Linked DNA regions of Homo sapiens: all the other regions are linked to region 1. Evidence: promoter capture Hi-C in human tissues and cell types (Jung and others, 2019). All regions are on one chromosome and are shown on one strand. Each heading gives the region's core, a stretch centred on a gene start or on the middle of the fragment in contact. The rest is flanking DNA. Distances are from core to core; before and after follow the strand shown. Region 1 holds the start of KRTAP10-5 (keratin associated protein 10-5). Region 2 overlaps UBE2G2 (ubiquitin conjugating enzyme E2 G2). Region 3 has its middle 18 kb from the start of TSPEAR.

The links. Contacts are between HindIII fragments. The study calls those that stand out against the background at their distance.
Region 2: a contact is called between a fragment that was not itself captured here and the fragment with the promoter of KRTAP10-5 in region 1, in 3 of the 25 tissues and cell types used here (heart left ventricle, mesendoderm cells and thymus).
Region 3: a fragment that was not itself captured here is called in contact with the fragment with the promoter of KRTAP10-5 in region 1 in 2 of the 25 tissues and cell types used here (IMR-90 fibroblasts and lymphoblastoid cells).

The regions. Positions count from the first base shown.
Region 1 is chr21:44,579,238-44,581,929 of GRCh38, reverse strand. It overlaps KRTAP10-5 (keratin associated protein 10-5), which reads left to right and starts at 1,326. Exons shown (of 1, transcript NM_198694.3): 1 at 1,326-2,475. The coding sequence starts at 1,352. The coding sequence ends at 2,167. All of the region lies in intron 1 of TSPEAR (thrombospondin type laminin G domain and EAR repeats), which reads left to right. RefSeq lists enhancers at 1,002-1,591, 1,592-2,182. The HindIII fragment of the contact is 3,934 bases long and covers 1-2,692 here.
Region 2 is chr21:44,788,348-44,791,039 of GRCh38, reverse strand. The region is part of intron 1 of UBE2G2 (ubiquitin conjugating enzyme E2 G2); the gene reads left to right. Among named protein-coding and RNA genes, the nearest start is that of UBE2G2, 12 kb to the left of the region's middle. RefSeq lists a silencer at 2,424-2,648. The HindIII fragment of the contact is 3,302 bases long and covers 1-2,692 here.
Region 3 is chr21:44,727,769-44,730,460 of GRCh38, reverse strand. No RefSeq gene overlaps it. Among named protein-coding and RNA genes, the nearest start is that of TSPEAR, 18 kb to the right of the region's middle. RefSeq lists an enhancer at 1-108. The HindIII fragment of the contact is 7,356 bases long and covers 1-2,692 here.

The DNA.
Region 1 (2,692 bases), core at 77-2,576:
ACAGATGGAAACAAATTAGAATGTAAACTGGATCAGGACCCCAATGCCCTGGAATAAAATAGTCTTTTACTCAGAAAATCAAATGAACTGCCACCAATGAGCAGAGCTTAACTGATGTCCAGTGAAACGAGGGGAAAAACGTTTAAATGCTCAACATAACATCATTACAGTGAGCCAAAAATGTATTTCATTCATCGTGAGACAAAATTAAAGTCACAAAAGGAAAGACCTTGAGAGATGAGTTATTTTTAAGAGCGCAAAACACTTCCTGAGTCTCCACATTGAAAGGCTCAATGAATTCTAACCACAGAAAGTAAAATAATGCACACGCATAGAAACAAAAGAAGAATAAAAAGAAAACCAAATGTTCCCAGAGAGTTAAACGGAGAGAGAGAGACAAACTATAAAAAATGACAAATGACCAACCTCAGTCTCTCATCAGCAACGCTGGACACTACAGAAAAATGGTGACACAGGTTCATCATTTTGAGAAAACAGATTTTTTGTTATTATTTATAATAATAATTCTGACTTAAAACCAGAATTATATACCCAGCTAAACTATCATATAAGTGTGAGGGTAAAGTTGAGTACATTTTTAGGCAAGAAAGAAATCTTAAAATGTATGTCCTAAAATCACCATATGTGAAAAAGTACTTGATCTGTCACCATGAGGAAATAAAAATGGAGAAAACCCAGAGCGCAGCTTCAAATAAAACAGAGAGAGGGCTCTGAGGGTGGCATGGAAGAGCTGAAGAGACAAGGATAAAGCACAGATCCACCAGATACCAAATCTCTGAGCATTCCCCTTACGAGGCACAAGGGGTTGAAGAGAGGGCCACTTAGCTTCATCGTACCCTCTGTGCCAGCTGCATTTTATAAGAAATGCATATTTTTCTACCTATTTATATTTTAATATGCTAAAAGTAATAAAATATATCCAATCAGTCCAAACACAGGATAGGTGAAACTAGAATTCCTCCCTTTAGAGAAGTCTTCATCTCTAAAACCTCTACTCAACAAAAGTTTGCTTGAAATATTTTCCACCACATTTCTGGGGCTAAAATAAGAACCGATGAAGAAACACGGCCCTGCAACATACACACAAGTTTAATGAGGGAAAAACAAACAGATAAACCAGCATGAATGACGCATCTCCAGCCACCAGCTCTAAACACCAACAAGGAAGAGAAGCTTGTGGAGCCTCCTGTCGGGACAACACACGCCAGGGAGGGATTTAAAAGCCCCACAGCCCTGAGCACCTCACTCACTCACTCCCTCCTTCACTCACTCACACACTCACTCACTCACACCTCCCCCAGCTCCCAGCTCACGTCTTCCCCACCCCAGCATGGCCGCGTGCACCATGTCCGTCTGCTCCAGCGCTTGCTCTGACTCCTGGCGAGTGGACGACTGCCCAGAGAGCTGCTGTGAGCCCCCCTGCGGCACCGCCCCCTGCCTGACCCTGGTCTGCACCCCAGTGAGCTGTGTGTCCAGCCCCTGCTGCCAGGCGGCCTGTGAGCCCAGCCCCTGCCAATCAGGCTGCACCAGCTCCTGCACGCCCTCGTGCTGCCAGCCGGCTTGCTGCGCCTCCTCCCCCTGCCAGCAGGCCTGCTGCGTGCCCGTCTGCTGCAAGCCTGTGTGCTGCCTGCCCACCTGCTCTAAGGATTCCTCTTCATGCTGCCAGCAGTCTAGCTGCCAGCCAACTTGCTGTGCCTCTTCCTCCTGCCAGCAGTCCTGCTGTGTGCCTGTCTGCTGCAAGCCCGTGTGCTGTGTGCCCACCTGTTCTGAGGATTCCTCTTCATGCTGCCAGCATTCTAGCTGCCAGCCGACTTGCTGCACCTCCTCCCCCTGCCAGCAGTCCTGCTACGTGCCTGTCTGTTGCAAGCCTGTCTGCTGCAAACCCATCTGCTGTGTGCCCGTCTGCTCTGGGGCTTCCACTTCATGCTGCCAGCAGTCTAGCTGTCAGCCGGCTTGCTGCACCACCTCCTGCTGCAGACCCTCCTCCTCCGTGTCCCTCCTCTGCCGCCCCATATGCAGGCCCGCCTGCTGCCTGCCCATCTCCTCCTGCTGTGCCCCTGCCTCCTCCTACCAGGCCAGCTGCTGCCGCCCGGCCTCCTGCGTGTCCCTCCTCTGCCGCCCCGCGTGCTCCCCCCTGGCCTGCTGAGGCCTCTGCTCAGGCCAGGAGTCCAGTTGCTGATGTGCACATCCCCCAGGGCCAACTGGTCCTGACTCGGGTTAGGAGGTTGCCCCCGCTTGGGACGGGGCCCCCATGTGCTGAGGTGACCCCCCCCTCCATACTCCCAGGAATCTCCATCCTCGAAGCTCCCCAGCTCCTGCCTCCCAGCAGGGGCCCACCTGCCTGTTGGGTCCCCTGTCCTCCCTCCCAGCTTCTCTGCCCCATGTCACTTGGCCTCGACTTGAACCTGTCAGCACCTCCTCCTGCTCCCCAATAAACTCCCCTTGGTCGCCTGATTCTCTTTTTCTGTAGTGCTCCTGGGGATACATGGTTTTGAGCTCAGATTGGTCTCTAGCCATGACTGTTTCTATGAATGAGTGACTTAACCTAGAAGTCACGGGGGACAGTGGCCTAACTCCTCCAGGGGGTCACCAGGTGGAACTCACAGCCACGCCCAGGAAGGCTCAGTCCCGGCTCAGCCTCCATGCCTGGGTCTTCCTGAGCCTGGTCATT
Region 2 (2,692 bases), core at 100-2,599, 210 kb before region 1:
TGCTCCAGTTCCCAAGAAGTTCCTCTTCTCTTTTTCAGACCACCTCAGCCTGGGCTTCATTGTCCATGTCACTATCAGCATTTTGGTCAAAAGCATTCAGCAAGTCTCTAGGAAGTTCCAGACTTTCCCACATCTTCCTTCTTCTAAGCCCTTCAAACTGTTCCAACCTCTGCCTACTACCCAGTTCTGAAGTTGCTTCCACATTTTCAGGTTATCTTTATAGCAGTACCCCTGGTACCAATTTACTGTATTCATCTGTTTTCACACTCCTATAAGAACTTCCCTGAGACTGGATAATTTATAAAGGAAAGAGGTTTAATTGACTCACAGTTCCACATGGCTAGGGAGGCCTCAGGAAACTTATCATGACAGAAGCCGAAGGGGAAGCAAGCACCTTCTTCACAAGGTGGCAAGAAAGAAGAGTGAAGGAGGAACTTTCGAACACTTATAAAACCACCAGATCTCATGAGAACTCACTGTCATGAGAACAGCATGGAGGAAATTGCCCCCATGATCCAGTCACCTTCCACTAGGTTCCTCCCTCAACACCTGGAGATTACAATTCAAGATGAAATTTGTGTGGGGACACAAAGCCAAACCATATCAATGGACATTTGGGTTGTTTCCAGTTTGGGGCTATTACGAATTTAGCTACTATGAACATTCACACAAAAGTCTATGGCAACATAAGACCCAGTAGAATTGCTGGGTCTTAGAGTCAATATATATGTAATTTTAGTGGAAATGGTCAAACTTCTTTCCCAAAGGGTAACCAAACCATTTTGCATTCCCATCAGTGGTGCATGAGAGATCTACTTGCTAAACTTGCCAGCACTTTAAGTCTTTAATTTTGGCCATTCTTTTGTGACTAAAGATACTGATAATGCTGAAGCTATTGAGCTGTATCTTATTGTGGTTTTAATTTGCATTACCCTTATGATTCACAATGTTGAGCATTTTCTCATGTGCTTATTAGCCATCTGTTTTAGTCAGTTCAGGCTGCTGTAAAAAAATACCAAAGACCAGGGAGCTTAAACAACAAACATTTATTGCTCCCAATTCTGGAGGCTGGGAAGTCTGGTGAGGGCTGTCTTCCTGGTTTGCAGATGACTGTCTTCTCCTTGTGCCCTTACATGGCCAGAGGCAAATCTCTCGTTTCTTCTTATAAAGGCACTAACTCCATTCATGAGAGTTCTGCCCTCCTGACCTAATCTCCTCCCAAAGGTCCCACCTCCCAATACCACATACATTAGGATTCAACATAGGAATTTTGGGGGGACGCAAGCGTTTGGACCACAGCATCATTCGTGTTGACTCTGACAGTGGCTCTTTTCAACTCTGCCTCCATTTTTCTTCTTACCTATTTTGATTTTTATATGTGGTGTGAGATGGGGAAAGTTTGATTTTTTTTTGTCTTAGAGATGAGCATCATTCATGGAAAAGACTGCCCTTTGCCTCTGGGCCATAGCTCTGTGTTCCCTCGAGTCAGGGTCTCTGTTGGTACAGGTATGCTTCTGGGCTTTCTCTTGTGCCCCATTGTTCAATTTAACTTTGAGCCAGTGCTACGTTGCCTTAATTTCCATAGCTCTGTAAGGAAGGCTTGGTAACTCATAGATGAAGCTTTCTGTTTATTCTTTTTTTTTTTTTTTTTTTTTGAGACAGAGTCTTGCTCTGTCACCCAGGCTGGAGTGCAGTGGCGCGATCTCGGCTCACTGCAACCTCCGCCTCCTGGGTTCAAGTGATCCTCCTGCCTCAGCCTCCCAAGTAGCTGGGACTACAGGTGCATGCCACCATGCCCGGCTAATTTTTCTATTTTTGGTAGAGATGGGATTTCGCCATGTTGGCCAGGCTGGTCTCGAACTCCTGACCTGAGGTGATCCACCCGCCTCGGCCTCCCAAAGTGCTGGGATTACAGGCGTGAGCCACCGCGCCTGGCCCTCTGTTTATTCTTTTTAAAGATAGTGTCTTGGCTATTCTGGATTGTTTGCATTTTTATATATCTTTTAGAAAGATATATATATGCCTCATATTCAGCAACTGTGCCAAACTCACTTTTACTAATTATCTTTAGATTCTTTTGGGCTTTCCTGTATATATGGACATAGCATCTGTGAATAATGAGTTTTATTTCTTTTTCAGTCCTTATACCTTATATTTATTTGGCAAGGATTTATTAATTTTCTGTCTCTTCAAAGAACCACCTTTTGGTTTCATTGATTTTTTTTTTTCTGTATGTTTGCTTACTGTTTTATTAATTTCCCCAGTCTCACTCTGGTTGCCCACTGGACTCCAGCCTGGGCAACCAGAGTGAGACCCTGTCTCAAAACTAAGCAACAAAGTAACCAGCAGGAACAGTTTGGAAAGACAGTGTACCCCTTATGTTTGCTTTTGCATTTGTAAAAAGAAAAAGAAAAAGAAAAGTCTATGTTTTGTTGGTATAAAGAACTATTTGGGCCGGCGCGGTGGCTCATGCCTGTAATCCCAGCACTTTGGGAGGCCGAGGCTGGCGGATCACGAGGTCAGGAGATCTAGACCATCCTGGCTAACACGGTGAAACCCCGTCTCTACTAAAAATACAAAAAATTAGCTGGGCGTGGTGGTGGGCGCCTGTAGTCCCAGCTACTTGGGAGGCTGAGGCAGGTGAATGGCATGAACCTGGGAGGTGGAGCTTGCAGTGAGCTGAGATCACACC
Region 3 (2,692 bases), core at 97-2,596, 150 kb before region 1:
GAGGGGTGAAATGAATGTGTTTTGCACATGAGAAGGACGTACAATTTCGGAGTCAGGAATAGAATGTTATGGGCCGATTGCATCTCCCCAGAGTTCCTATATAGAAATTCTAACCCTGGTGTGGTGGCGCTAGGAGGCAGGGCGTTTGGGAGGTGATTAGGTTGTGGCCCTCATGATGGGGTCCTCTTATGAAGGAGACCCCAGAGAGCATGCTGTCACTTTTGCTCTGTCTGCCACATGAGGGTGCAAGAAGAAGACAGCCGCGAGCAAACCAGGAAGAGTGTCCTTGCCAGAACCCGACCCTGCTGCCACCTTGGCCTCCAACTTCCAGCCCCTAGACTGTGAGGAACACAGCTTGTTGTTGAAACACCCAGTCAGTGGTATTTTCTTACAGCAGCCAAAATCCACTAACGGTCATCAAGAAGCTGATGTGTGATTAGGAACCACCTCTTGCCCAATGTGCGGGGAATCAGTTGGACCCTGACGGAGCTGCCTCGGTCAGGAGTCCCGGCTGCAGGGGACATCCACAGAACCCAGAAGTTATGGAGAAGCCACTGGGGCACAGGCAGCCTGGCTCCCTAGGATGCAGAAGACACCAGGCTCTCCGCCCCCTCCCTGCTGCAGGCCGCTTTCCTGTGCCTCTTGCTATGGTCAGGGGTGCCGTGTTCCCCTGGAACACGTGCCGCCTTCTGCACTGCCTTGAGTCTTTGGCCCGCTTGTGTCTTGGACTTACCGCAGTGCTGTTTTGTGAGGGGCACAGACGCACACCATCAGCGCTCAAGAGGCAGACACGAGATCGGGTGATACTGGGCCAGCAGGCCAGTGTGCAGCACCCTCCACTTCCCGGCCCTCTTGGATGGTCACCTGTCCTGAGCCTGTGGCCCAGCGGGGCCCTGTCCCCTTGATCTGTGCATATTCGCAGGGGCGGGGTGCTGGTGGAGAACTCAAGGGGGCCCAGGGCTGGGAGCAGCCGGTGCTCCTGGTGAGCTCACTCTGACCAGCTGCACAGGCCATGTGGAGGAGGGGACGATCCCCAGGTGCCCCACAGGCCCCCTATCCCCCGTCTCTTCAGGAGAGGGATGACGGCCACTCCCAGTGGTGACTCAATGCCTGTGCCACCCACATCATCAGCTGTGCTGGCGGCTCACAGAAGACGACGGGACAGTCCATGTTTTATGCCCATATATCATATATTTTTTATCTACCATGGGTATCTACATACATTCTTGCTGCACGGTGCCGAGATGCTCAGTGTCTATCTCTGACAGTGAAATTGTGATCAGTTTTCATTCCTACTTTTTGTCATCCATATGTGATGAGGTTTCAACAAGGAACCTATTATTACTTGTGTCGTAGGAAAAATAAAGTTATTTTTAAAAGCAAACGTATGTCTAAGTGATGTAATCTATTTGCTGGGTGTAATAGGCTAGAATGCTCTCAGAAGCCTCCCACCTGACAGCTCCCCTCAAATCTGTCAGCGGGGAATAAAACTGTAAGGGCGCGATGGCCTTTTGGTTGTTAGTTTAGCAAACTGCACGAGTAAGACACAAGCGCGTTCTCGTCCATCAACACCAAGTGGGTCATCGTGGCGGGGCAGGACCAGTGCTATGAACTCGCTGTAATTTGGAATTCTACCCGAGAAAAATGCGGTTATTCAAGGGACACTTTGACCCTTGCATTTGAAGTTCTTGCATTTTACTTGGACCAACATTATCAATGCTGGGGGTCTATGGTCTCCACTCTCCCACCACAAACATCGCTGGTGGTGATGCTTAATGAGTTGCCATTTTGACTTCTGATGCTGAGAATAGCACTAATGCCAAGATATACTTTTTTTTTTTTTTTTTTTTTTTTTTTGAGATGGAGTTTTGCTCTTGTTGCCCAGGCTGGAGTGCAATGGCGCGATCTCGGCTCAACACAACCTCTGCCTCCGGGGTTCAAATGATTCTCCTGCCTCAGCCTCCCGAGTAGCTGGGATTACAGGCATGCGCCATCACGCCCAGCTAATTTTGTATTTTTAGTAGAGATGGGGTTTCTCCATGTTGGTCAGGCTGGTCTCGAACTCCTGACCTCAGGTGATCTGCCCGCCTTAGCCTCCCAAAGGATATGCTTTTATCTACCTACTCTTGTTCTGAATAATGACCTCGTGTGTCTTCTCTGAGGATGGTTTTTCCTGAGCCCTGGCTGCCAGGGCGTCTCCCAGGGCTGCAGGTGTCTCCAGGTCTCTCGTCCTCTGGGTCTCTCACTGCTGCCCCGGACTCCATCCCCTTTCCTGTCCCCTCCATGCAGGCTCCACTGTTCCCAGGACTCTCAGCTCTTCCTGCTGCTTGTTCACTCTGCTCCCGCAGCTTGGAAGCCTGTGGGCCACTTCCTGCCACTTGCCTGAAGGACGATGACCCCTCAGAGAAGCTCAGCAGCCCAGGACTGCCCCCATCTTCTCCGCCCACAGCACCCCTAGGGTCACGGTGCTGCCTTGCTGTGCCACCCGGCTCATGTGCCCCTCCCATGCCACTGTCACCAGTGCCAGGCCCTGGGAGCCCAGGGGTCTCTCTGGAGCAAGCACTCCCTCGGGGTTCGTGAGGCAAATGAATGATGTATGATCTCTAATACTGTCAGCCATTCTGATGGAAAGCGCTGGCACTGTGGTCCCTGGAAGTCCATTAGGACTGTGGTGACAGGCTGTCCTCGTGAG